Linked DNA regions of Homo sapiens: all the other regions are linked to region 1. Evidence: promoter capture Hi-C in 16 types of primary human blood cells and fetal thymus (Javierre and others, 2016). All regions are on one chromosome and are shown on one strand. The core of a region is centred on a gene start or on the middle of the fragment in contact, and the rest is flanking DNA. Distances in the headings are between cores, read along the strand shown. Region 1 holds the start of TPR (translocated promoter region, nuclear basket protein). Region 2 holds the start of RNASEL (ribonuclease L). Region 3 overlaps DHX9 (DExH-box helicase 9). Region 4 overlaps DHX9 (DExH-box helicase 9).

What was found. The method cuts DNA at HindIII sites, captures the fragments that hold promoters and counts their contacts. A CHiCAGO score of 5 or more calls a contact.
Region 2: a contact is called between the fragment with the promoter of RNASEL here and the fragment with the promoter of TPR in region 1, in 2 of 17 cell types (total CD8 T cells and total CD4 T cells). The highest score is 6.2, in total CD8 T cells.
Region 3: a contact is called between a fragment that was not itself captured here and the fragment with the promoter of TPR in region 1, in 4 of 17 cell types (total CD4 T cells, naive CD8 T cells, monocytes and 1 more). The highest score is 11.5, in total CD4 T cells.
Region 4: a contact is called between a fragment that was not itself captured here and the fragment with the promoter of TPR in region 1, in 6 of 17 cell types (total CD4 T cells, monocytes, total CD8 T cells and 3 more). The highest score is 13.9, in total CD4 T cells.

What each region holds. Positions count from the first base shown.
Region 1 is chr1:186,373,841-186,376,548 of GRCh38, forward strand. TPR (translocated promoter region, nuclear basket protein) reads right to left here and starts at 1,413. Exons shown (of 51, transcript NM_003292.3): 1 at 1,038-1,413. The coding sequence starts at 1,188. ODR4 (odr-4 GPCR localization factor homolog) reads left to right here and starts at 1,998. Exons shown (of 14, transcript NM_017847.6): 1 at 1,998-2,134. RefSeq lists a silencer at 548-597 and enhancers at 1,158-1,457, 1,618-1,667, 1,838-2,027. The HindIII fragment of the contact is 6,872 bases long and covers 1-2,708 here.
Region 2 is chr1:182,587,927-182,590,852 of GRCh38, forward strand. RNASEL (ribonuclease L) reads right to left here and starts at 1,330. Exons shown (of 7, transcript NM_021133.4): 1 at 1,241-1,330. RefSeq lists an enhancer at 1,046-1,205. The HindIII fragment of the contact is 1,344 bases long and covers 72-1,415 here.
Region 3 is chr1:182,881,860-182,884,768 of GRCh38, forward strand. It overlaps DHX9 (DExH-box helicase 9), which reads left to right. Exons shown (of 28, transcript NM_001357.5): 25 at 1,280-1,509; 26 at 1,661-1,776; 27 at 2,754-2,909. Among named protein-coding and RNA genes, the nearest start is that of DHX9-AS1, 44 kb to the left of the region's middle. The HindIII fragment of the contact is 962 bases long and covers 1,034-1,995 here.
Region 4 is chr1:182,850,405-182,853,285 of GRCh38, forward strand. DHX9 (DExH-box helicase 9) reads left to right here. Exons shown (of 28, transcript NM_001357.5): 4 at 1,829-1,940. Among named protein-coding and RNA genes, the nearest start is that of DHX9-AS1, 12 kb to the left of the region's middle. The HindIII fragment of the contact is 3,288 bases long and covers 1-2,881 here.

The DNA of each region.
Region 1 (2,708 bases), core at 163-2,662:
AAGACTTCTTTTATAGTAGTCAAGATATTACCTGAAAGCATAAAACTACTAAATATATGTAAAAGTAAATGTGTAAACTTTCCAAGGGAAGGGATTGAATATCATGTTCAGCATAGTATCAGGAACATGTAAGACATTCAATATTTATGGTGCAAATTAATAAATAGAATGCAATGTACTATACTCAGCTCTGGGATCAGAGAACTAATTTTCAAGGTCAATTCTGCTTGACAGTTACACTTTTTTTGAAGTAAAAACTTGTTCAGAATTTCCAGTCAACTTAGCAAGAACAGTATGAACCTCCCCAAACAAATGGTAAACCAAAACACATTAACGGGAAGTTTGTATTTTACTAATGGTAATGACTATATTCTTCATATTTTTTTCAAGGATGTTCAAGCCATTATTGTCAGTAACTTTCTTACTTAAAGGCCTACTTTAGGTAATTACAAGAAAATTTTAATGTTTTCTATCAAACTCCAACTTTTTAAGAGAAATCAAGATATATTAAATTTATGTACTGCACATTCACTGTGTTTCCAGCGCTCTTATGCACCTAATATTCATTTTTGTAAACATCTGATTCGTTCTGGAGCCACGGGACGACGCACACACTAAGAACAAGTGCACAGAGTGGTCAATTTGGCAAAGGCCTAGAATGCAGGTGCCTAGAAAATAGGGCGGAGCCACTATCAGTTGAAGTGCAACAAAACATATAAGGTACTCTAGGCTTAGAGAGATGGGTTCGCAGACTCTATCAAGTCTGTTTCCCGTCTGCCGGACGAAGGAAAATAAGCGTCCCTGTATGAGCCTACCCTAACTACAAAGAAAATGCTACTGAACTTAGATTCAGATTTTTTTTTCAAAGGCTTCTTATCAAACTGTAAGGAGCAGGAAAGCGAAGGCTCAGGATATCCACAGAGCCCAGGAAGTGAGGTTAACAGAGCGGTACCCAGTGCCAACTTGATGGGGGAAGACCAGACCCAAAGGGCGGGAGTCGAGCCCAAAACCAAGGACGGAAAGAGCATCTCACTTACCGCTCTCCACCTTAAATTTCTCATGCCGCCCCTTCAGGCCATCGATCTCGGATTGCTGATCAGCAAGGAACTTTTCAAGTTTGTTCTGGACAGACTTGGGCAGCTTGTTCAGCTCCGTGCGCTCCAGGACTTGCTGCAACACCGCCGCCATGTCGGTGGGGCCAGGGACCCCAGTGGCAGCGGCCGACGGGGTAGAAGCGGAGAAGAAAGGCGAAGACCAGCAGGACCCAGACGCCTGGGCCGCCGCCTCTATCACCTCGCTCGGTGGCTCGCGCGCGCCCGCCCGCCGGAGACTCCCGCGGCGGGACCCTGGGAAATCGAGTCCACCCTCAGCGGCAGCGTTTCAGCAACAGCACCTCACCGCCCGCGACCGAAGTGCGCGCGCAGCCGTTGGAAGCTACGAACCCTGGGAACCCGAGCTCAGAGGCTATCCCTGATCCTCTTGCGCACCCAATTTTCCGGCTTCCAGCTCCACCCACTTCAGGCCTTGTAGGGCTCTGGGAAATGTAGTGTTTTTCTCATTCTTTTCCGGGAGCCCAATGCTGCACCGCCCTCTCAGCTTCCGTTTTTCTCCCCGCTCCCCTGGCTCTCCTATCTCGGCCCCGTAACCGCTGTCCGCACGGTGGCGCCACATACGTACTCGTCACCCCTTGGCCCTCCCTGAAGAGCTGGTGACCTTACCGTCAAAGCCCCGGGATGCCATGGATCGTCCTCGTTGGCGGCTTCTGGACACTGAGCCACTAGAGGGCATCGGTCCCGGTAGGGCCGGACGGCAGGCTCCGGGATACCGCCACGCTCTCTATGGCGCCCAGAAGGGGGCGGGGTGGCGACCGCAGTCGCTTTGGCTGAGGCTCTGCGGGGAAGGGAGGGGGGGCTTTTACGTCATCAATCTGCGCCACCTGACTCCCAAGTCCCTGGCTTTGGAGTGGGAAGTGAGGTGTGGGAAGTAGGTCGCTTTCTGATGAATTCAGTGGCAGTGAATTGAGACCGGAGGGAATCTGGCCCCTAGAGGCTGGTACTTGGGCCCGAAACCCCCATCTCCGGCGGAGAGACCGTCCGAGGTAATTGTCTGCCACGAGTGCACATTCTGAAAACAGGTAAGTCAGCCTAAGTGTAGTGTGTGTGTGTGTGTGTGTGTGTGTGTGCTCTCTTTTCAAGAGAAAAAGGAAGGGACAGTGTTGGAACCATATGGACAGTCACTCCGGCACACACTTCTGACGAACTTACCTTGTGTGAAACGGCGTACCTAAATGGTTTTTGGTGGTGGGGAGGTGGCACTGAGTGATTCAGTACCCGGGAATTTAAGGACCCGGGTTAATTCTTCAGGAGGAGAATTAAAAGAAACCGGTAGCACTTTGAGTGTAGCCTATGTTTTAAATTTTTCGTTGCAGAAACGGTTACCTAACATTATATTGTTTTTAAAATTGAAAACTGTTGTAACTGAAGTTTTTAAACACATTGTTAATTTCTACAGTAACAGAACTTGTATGGTTCCAGATCATAATTCTGTAGTTTTAAAGCTCAATCCGTAGATTGTTTCGTGTTTACTCTTATGAAAGAATTTGTTAAATTATTCATTGTAAATAATGCATTCCCAGTGTCGTCTCTCTGCAGTTCCCACAGTCGTGGGCCTTCTGTGAATTGGTGATTTAGTTCTTATATGAAATTTAT
Region 2 (2,926 bases), core at 80-2,579, 3.8 Mb before region 1:
ACCATTCTGTTTTTTATTTCAGCATAGCATTCGATAAATACATGAGACATTTAACACTTTATTATAAAATAAGCTTTGAGCTAGATGATTTTGCCCAACTGTAGCCTAATGTAAGTGTTCTGAGCACATTTAAGGTAAGCTAGGATAAGCTATGACGTTCAGTAGATTAGGTGTATTAAATGTGCTTTTGACCTACAATATTTTCAATTTAGGATGGGTTTATCTGTATGTAACCCCATCATAAGTCAAGGAGTATCTGCAGTAGTGAAAAGAGCTTGTACTCTGACCTTAGGGAGATCTAAGTTTGAGCTTGTGGCTGTGTAATTTTTTACTATTACTTCCTGTAACCTTGGATTGTTGAATCTCAATTTTCTATTTCCTGAAATGGAGACAAAAATAAATACAGTCATGTGTGTAAAGTACATTAAAGTATGGAGTGTTGCAAATATTAGCCACTCAATGAATGTTAGAGCTAATTATATCCCGTTATGAAAAAATAAATTGCTTAGTGAATTCTATTCTCCCTACACATGTGCATATAGCTACTACACGAATAGGCAACTGGCAGCTATCAATTTCGTCCAACTGTCAATCAGATCTGAGAATTACAGATCCAGTTCAATCATCAGACAGCCCGAAACTGTTACCTGAATATTTAAATAACTGCATCTGCTATAGAATTCACGAAGCAACCCTTTTTCAGCAATCTCACCACTCTGACAGTTTCAAAGCCTCAGAGGTTAATTGATTAGCCTCTTAGAAGTTTAATTAATTGTGCAACACATACACGATCACCAGGCAATGAAATCTTTGAACCAAAGTGTTTGTGTAGACCGTCCCCATTACAATCAGATGTGAGGTGGGCTGGTATAAACAAAGGAGCCGGGAAGGAGAGGAAATATCAAGGAAGCCCTGAGTGACGCATCAGAGTAGAGAAGAGACGAGCCTGCGGAAGTACTCCAACAGACAATCCTGCTTTCAATTTCACTTTCTCTGTGCGACCTGAGTAAGTCGCAAAGAGATGCCTGAGAAACTGAGGACATGGATAAATGACGTGTGGACTCTGACAGAACTCTGGAAGGGCACTGGAGGAAGATCCTTCCGGGCAGCCAAGGGCTGGGAGCTCCCCTCCCACTTCCCAAGTCCTCCAGCCCCTGGCCTCTCCAGTCTCCAAAGCCCAAGAATTCTTCAGGATCGACTTATCGAGGTTTTCTAGCTTTCCTCCTTCTGCCTGCCTTACCTGCTCAACTCAGACGTCTCAATTATTCCTTTGGCAGCCGCAAAGCCTGGAAGACTGCTTGCAGCCCGAGCAGTTTCCTCCTGCTGCGTCACTGAGTCAGCAGGGCGGAGCCAAGAAAGGAGTGAGGAGTGTGGGAGGGAAAGCAGCCACAGGCTCACTCTGGCACCAGGAGCAAAGCTTCTACTTGCACACCTTCTGGAGGAAAGCAATAGCCACTTTCTGTCTGCTGATGAGGAATGTGATGCCCGGGGTCATGTCACTCACCTCTCAGTCTTGCAGCCTTTCAGGTGGCAGCAGCCAACTGCATCCATCACTCTTGCATCCTTTCTTTGTCATTGCAAATTCTGGTCTTCTTGGAAGAAAGGAATGGAAAGTAAACACATATTGAGCACCTATTGTGTTCCAGACACAATGCTTTACATGCAGCATGGTCCCAGTTAACCCCTGACAATCTTGTTGATTATGAAACGCAGGCTCATAGAAGCTAAGTAAGCCCAAAGCCCAAGCCCTGTCACCTTTCTCAGCTCACTCAACTCACAGCTCTGAGGCAGTGCGGCCTTCTCAGAAGGGTACCGGACTGGCAGTCTGGAGACCTGATCCTACAGCCAGCTCTGTGGCTGCTTAGCTGAGTGACCTCAGGCATGTGATTTAACCATGTAGGGCCTCAGTTCTCTCCTATAACTTGGTTTTGAAGGTTCCTTTCTGCTCTACAAGTTCTGTTCTTGACTATCTTCCTAGCAATGAGCTGTGTACTGTGTACTTAGTGCTGTAGTGGAAAGTATTTCCATCCCCAAAGAATACCCAGTCTTGCTGGGGAGACAAAGCCCTGGGACTTGTGAACAACAAGTAGTGCATGGTCACTTGACGACCACCTGTGTCACACCATCCAGACCCGGGGCCTCTACCACCCCTTATACACCAGGGATTCCCAGGCCTCGCTCTCTAACCCCAGCCTCTCTGCTGAGCTTTAGACCTACAAATCTTGAATATGTGTCAAATGGAAATACTCATCTTTTCCTAAATCTGCCCCTCCTCCCACTTATTCCATCTCCACAGATGGCACCATCACCCGGAGGCCACCCCTCATCCTCATCCCAACACCAAGTCTCTTGCTTTCATCTACAAAGGGATGACCATTCGAGTCCTTGTCATCATTTATAGCAAGAAATTGATGACTTGCTTCCTAGCCCTTCATCCATTGTTCCACCCTGCATCATTGACCCACCATCATTTTCAGGACAAAGTTCAAAAATCCTTAACCCATTATTCATTTAATTAATACTTGTTGGACAGGCGTGGTGGCTCACACCTGTAATCCCAGCACTTTGGGAGGCCAAGGCAGGCAGATCACCTGAGTTCAGGAGTTCAAGACCAGCCTGGCCAACATGGTGAAACCGCGTCTCTACTAAAAATACAAAAAGTAGCCAGGTGTGGTGTTGTGCACCTGTAATCCCAGCTACTCGGGAGGCTGAGGCAGGAGAATTGCTCGAACCCGGGAGGTGGAGGTTGAAGTGAGCCAACATAGTACCACTACACTCCAGCCTGGATGACAGAGCAAGACTCCGTCTCAAAAAAAAAAAAAAAACTTATTGAGCACTGACTATGTTACCAGTGACTATTCTGCATATCTGGCATAGAATGATTTACCACACCAGTTCCTCACAGAGTTCTTCTAGGAGCTTGCAT
Region 3 (2,909 bases), core at 265-2,764, 3.5 Mb before region 1:
TTTAGACTTGAAGTAAATTCTACCACATTAAATTTTAAATGACTTTAATTTATACTTTCGGTGTACAGATGATTAAAGGACTTTATGACATCTAACATAGAAAAAAACCAACCCATGTTTCTTGATGAGCTGTAGTACTTTTCTTTTCCAACTAGGTTAAAATATAGAATTACTTCCTAAAACATTGAGAACTGGAATGCATAACCAGAAATAAGACTGTTGAGAGACAGAAGGTAGTTGGGCAAGATGGTAAATTTTTAAAGGCTGTAATTGGAATAACTAAACAAAGTAGTGAGTGGTTCTCTTCTGTCATAAGCCAGCCGAAATTTTAGTTTTTCCTCAAAATTATAAGAAAGGGAAAACTTCATGTGCTAGAATCTTGAGATGAATTTTACAGGTAATGAAACAGGCACCAAGGTATAAATTGTCTTTAATTCATCCAATTAGGAGGCTATAAGACTAGAACTCGTTTGTCTAGAACAAAATATGTCTGTGCTTTCAGCGGTTGACTGTCATGCTTTCCAGTCAGTAGCTAAGTACTCAAAGTGTAGACTGGGTAAAAACGTCAGCCTTCATTCCAGTAGGTGTCCTCTTAGATTATCTCCATCTTCTCTACAACTAACAGCTATTTAAGAGTAGCAGATAAATACTTTGTGGTCCTATCAGTCAAGCTCTTATTCTCAGAGTAGATGGTTGATTGGGGGACTTTAAAAAGTAATCACCCCGGCCGGGCGCAGTGGCTCACACCTGTAATCCCAGCGCTTTGGGAGGCCGAGTCAGGTGGATCACGAGGTCAGGAGATCGAGACCATCCTGGCTAACACGGTGAAACCCGTCTCTACTAAAACTACAAAAAATTAGCCGGGCGTGGTGGCGGGTGCCTGTAGTCCCAGCTACTTGGGAGGCTGAGGCAGGAGAATGGCATGAACCCGGGAGGCAGAGCTTGCAGTGAGCAGAGATGGCGCCACTGCACTCCAGCCTGGGCGACAGAGCGAGACTCGTCTCAAAAAAAAAAAAAAAAAGTAATCACCCCAAGCTTATTTATGGTTGAGTCTATAAGAGAATAGAGACGTTTTCGTTTTCTTATTGTGGAAACTCAGTAACATTACTCCTTGAACTTAATCTGGGTGTAAGGATTCTGAGAAGAGAAAGTTTTACAGACAGGTTATGTGAAAAGAGTGAGGAAGAGTCAGTTCTCTGAATTATCTTAAATAGTTTGCATGTAATGTGAAGATCAGCCAGTTATCTGATTTTTGTTTTCACTGTGCTCCTCTTAACAGATTGTTTGTTGACACAAGTGTTTACTAACACTGGACCAGATAATAATTTGGATGTTGTTATCTCCCTCCTGGCCTTTGGTGTGTACCCCAATGTATGCTATCATAAGGAAAAGAGGAAGATTCTCACCACTGAAGGGCGTAATGCACTTATCCACAAATCATCTGTTAATTGTCCTTTTAGTAGCCAAGACATGAAGTACCCATCTCCCTTCTTTGTATTTGGTGAAAAGGTAAGAAAAGACTAGAAAAGTTTACATTGAAAGTTGAAATTGTCTTTACAATCATTAGGAACATGAATTTTGATTTTCAAAGCACAGTATATAGCGGTATTTGGAAGTTGGAATGTCAACCATTTTGTATTGTCTCTTTCTCCATTTGCAGATTCGAACTCGAGCCATCTCTGCTAAAGGCATGACTTTAGTCACCCCCCTGCAGTTGCTTCTCTTTGCCTCCAAGAAAGTCCAATCTGATGGGCAGATTGTGCTTGTAGATGACTGGTATGGATTTTCAGATGTGAACTCCAAACTGAATTCTTAGAATTACAATATGATGGAATTCAGCTGCTAATCTAACTTAATTATATACTAATTATATCTAACTTAATTATATACTATATACTTAATCTTAAATTGATACCAGTAGAAGCAAATGCATTAGGAATTTGAGCCATGTCTACCACTAGGCACACCACCACTATGGAATCAGAATCTAAGTGAAGCTTGAGTACCCTTTCACATACTCTGTATATTGATTCAAAACTAGTGGTAAGCACTGGGCAAAAATGGAATAGAGCTTAATGGACAGCCAGTAGGCTCAGCCATCATATTCTTGAAAACCTAGAAAATGCCAGTATTCTGGGTCTCTTAAATTCATTATTTTAAAGTCTGGATGATCTGGCTGGGTGCGGCACATCACTTGGGCTCAGGAAGTTCAAGATCAGCCTGGACAACATGGTGAAACCTGTCTCTACGAAAAATCCAAAAAAATTAGCCCCGTGTGGTAGCGCACACCTGTAGTCCCAGCTATTCTGGAGGCTGAGGCAGGAGAATCACTTGAACCTGGGAGTTGGAGGTTGCAATGAGCTATCACGCCACTGCACTCCAGCGAGGGCAACAGAGCAAGACTCTGTCTCAAAAAAAAAGAAAGTCTGAATGATCCATATTGCTGGACTTTGTTTTTTGTTTATTATATATTGCATATATTTTTATTATATTTTATTTGGCTTGATAGACTTTTTGGCTTAAGACTCCTGCTCATAGCTAGCAGTGAATTTTAAGAAGCTAGTGCTGATTATAACTACTCTTCATATCTGTGTTTGCCTAAGTTTGGGGCCATTATAAGTAGTTTTTTTTTTTAATATTAATGCTTAAGAAGTTAAATTTATTCTATAATGTGCCATGTGTGAAGTTGAGAGATAATGGTCTTTTTCTACATATACTCCCTCTCTTATTTTTAATGTATTTCGCCACTTTAGGATTAAACTGCAAATATCTCATGAAGCTGCTGCCTGTATCACTGGTCTCCGGGCAGCCATGGAGGCTTTGGTTGTTGAAGTAACCAAACAACCTGCTATCATCAGCCAGTTGGACCCCGTAAATGAACGTATGCTGAACATGATCCGTCAGATCTC
Region 4 (2,881 bases), core at 182-2,681, 3.5 Mb before region 1:
AGCAACATAGACCCCATCTCTACAAAAATAAAATAGAAATATTAGGTGGGAATGGTGGTGGCTGCCCGTAGTCCCATCTACTCGAGAGGCTGAAGTGGGAGGATCACTTGAGCCCAACAGGTTGGGGCTGCAGTGATCTGTCATTGCACCATTGCACTCCAGCCTGGGTGATGCAGTGAGACCCTGTCTCAAAAAAAAAAAAAAAGGTTTTAAATGGGAACAGATTGTGAGAATAGAAAAAGAAATAAATGGACTATAGCATTGCCAATGTTGCTAAAATCTGTGTATTTTTGTTTAGATAGTTACATGTGTATTTTAATGTGATAAAATATATATTGTGTATACTATTTTATAACCTACTTGAAAAAGTATTTTCTCACATTGCTGACTCTTCCTTAGGCAGAGCCAAGATTATGCACTGTGACACTTTCAATACTCTTATACCTCACCTATTTTAATTGATTTTGAAATGTTAAAAAAGGAAATCCTCCCCATCACTGGAAAATAGAAGTTACATCAGACACCTCAATTCTCATACGTTAGGAATTTTCTTTTAGGTTGGTGTAGATAGAGAGTGAGGTGGAGGGGAATTTGAGGTCCTGGAGTGGCAAGGTGGTAGAAAGAGGAGGACAAGTTAGCATTGTGGTGCCAGGACTGCCCAGTGAATTTTTCCTGTGCCTTGGTTATTAGGGCTGACCCTTGAATAGGTTCTACTTTGTCTCCATAACCCCAACCTTGGAGGAACACTATCCTTCAAGGTATAAGCTCTCTAGAAGAAAGCAGAAAAGAAAAAAATTCACAATGTACTAATAACACAACATTAGACATGTTGCTATATATATTGGCAGAAGCAAAGTGGTAATGTGAAAAAGTAACAAAGCGCCCAAAAAACCCTAAGAGACAATTGGAAATTTGAATTTAGATCTAAGTGAAAATTTTAAATTATGATCATAGACTATTTAGATAAGTGTCTGGCAAAACTCTGGAGTGGTCAGAGGAACAATCATTTATTCAAAATAATAATAGTTATACTATTGCACAAAAAACAGCTTTTTGAATGAATTAGCTTTCATCTCAGAATGAAACAGGAGAAATTAATAGCGATAAAATCAGAAATTGCTGAATTAGAAAGTAAAAATAAGTCAAATTTTTAAATGTTCTTTGCAAACAGAAATAGTTCATCCCATCTAGTTAAGGAAAAGGTTGTATAGATCTCAGTTCTTCATCCTAAAACCCATGTGGTTAGATGGGTTTAAGAATTCAGAATTTTCCTTAGTTTAGAAAACCAATATATTTTATGTAACAGCACATCTGAGGCAAAACCCTGTAATTAAACTTTCTTAATACGTAGTACTAATGATCTTATAAGAGAAAAATATCTATTCCGTGATCATCTTAATAAAGGCTTTTGAAAAAGTATTTGATAAAATTAAACACTAATGACCAATAAAATACTTAAGAAATGGAGTAGAAAGATACTTTTTTGACTGCTTTAAAAGGTGTTAAGGTAGTAAACACTACTAAAAATGAGCCCCAGAGCAGTGTTACTCAAAATGTTACAGTTTGTGAGGAGGTAAGTACAGAAATGAGTAAACATTTAGAAATACAGTATTGTGACAGGTTGTTCCCAGTGGATTAGGGGAAACAACCAGTTCTTCATTGCAGACATTTTGAGATGCACTGCTCTAGAGACTTAACCTCTAAACAAAGATGGTAATATTACAAAGAAAGGAGGTATGACACATGGGTCCTTTTAAGTATTAAAAGAATTTACTAGTCCCCGTGAAGGCAAAAGCACTGACAGCTGCCTTGACTTTTTCTTTTGCAGGTAGCATCTCCGCCCCCACTTACTGATACTCCTGACACTACAGCAAATGCTGAAGGAGATTTACCAACAACCATGGGAGGACCTCTTCCTCCACATCTGGCTCTCAAAGCAGGTAAGGGACTTGAATCCATGCACGTGGTGGAGAATAAGATATACACAATCTTGATCACCATCTCTGTTTCTCGTTTTGGGTAGAAAGAACTGCAGTAAACTCTTGATGTTAAGAGACAACCCAAGGCCTTCATAAATTTGCACATATTACCAGATCATTTATTTTTTTCTTAGAACATGTGGTACAGCATAGTTCTTTGCTGTCATTGGCTTTTACTACATTTTTCTCTGAATAAATAGGTTTTCCACAGGCTAGAATATTTGGTGAAAGAATCTTATGAATTGCCTTTTCTTGTTCCTTATTCTTACTAAATATATTGTTGACTTGTTTGTTTACCCTGTGGATCCAGGCCATTGCAGAATGACTTACAGTAGGTCCTTGAATAACTTTGTTTCCTTCAATGTTATTATCTTACAACATTGCTTATAGTCTTCGTTTCCAAGAACCTAGCAGCGACATTAATTGAGGATTTACTGTATAGTCACAGCTTTTATTGGGATGTCTACCATATGGTAGATTAGGATTTGGGTCATATTGCTTAAGTCTCATATTTACTGTTTATTGAATAGCAGTAGTATCTACTTCATATGATTGCTTTTTGAGGCAGAGTCTTGCTCTGTCACCCAGACTGGAGTGCAGTGGTGCAATCTTGGCTCACTGCAACCTCCACCTCCCAGGTTCAAGTGATTCTCTCACCTCAGCCTCTCTAGTAGCTGGGATTACAGGCATATGCCACCATGCCCGGCTAATTTTTGTATTTTTAGTAGAGACGGGGTTTCACTATGTTGACCAGGCTGGTCTCAAACTCCTGACCACACGTGATACCCACCTCAGCGTCCGGAAGTGCTGGGATTACAGATGTGAGCCTCCATGCCCGGCCATAAATTAGGATAATTCTTTAATGTATTTAGGATTTTTCTACAGTTATGACTCATTAAGAG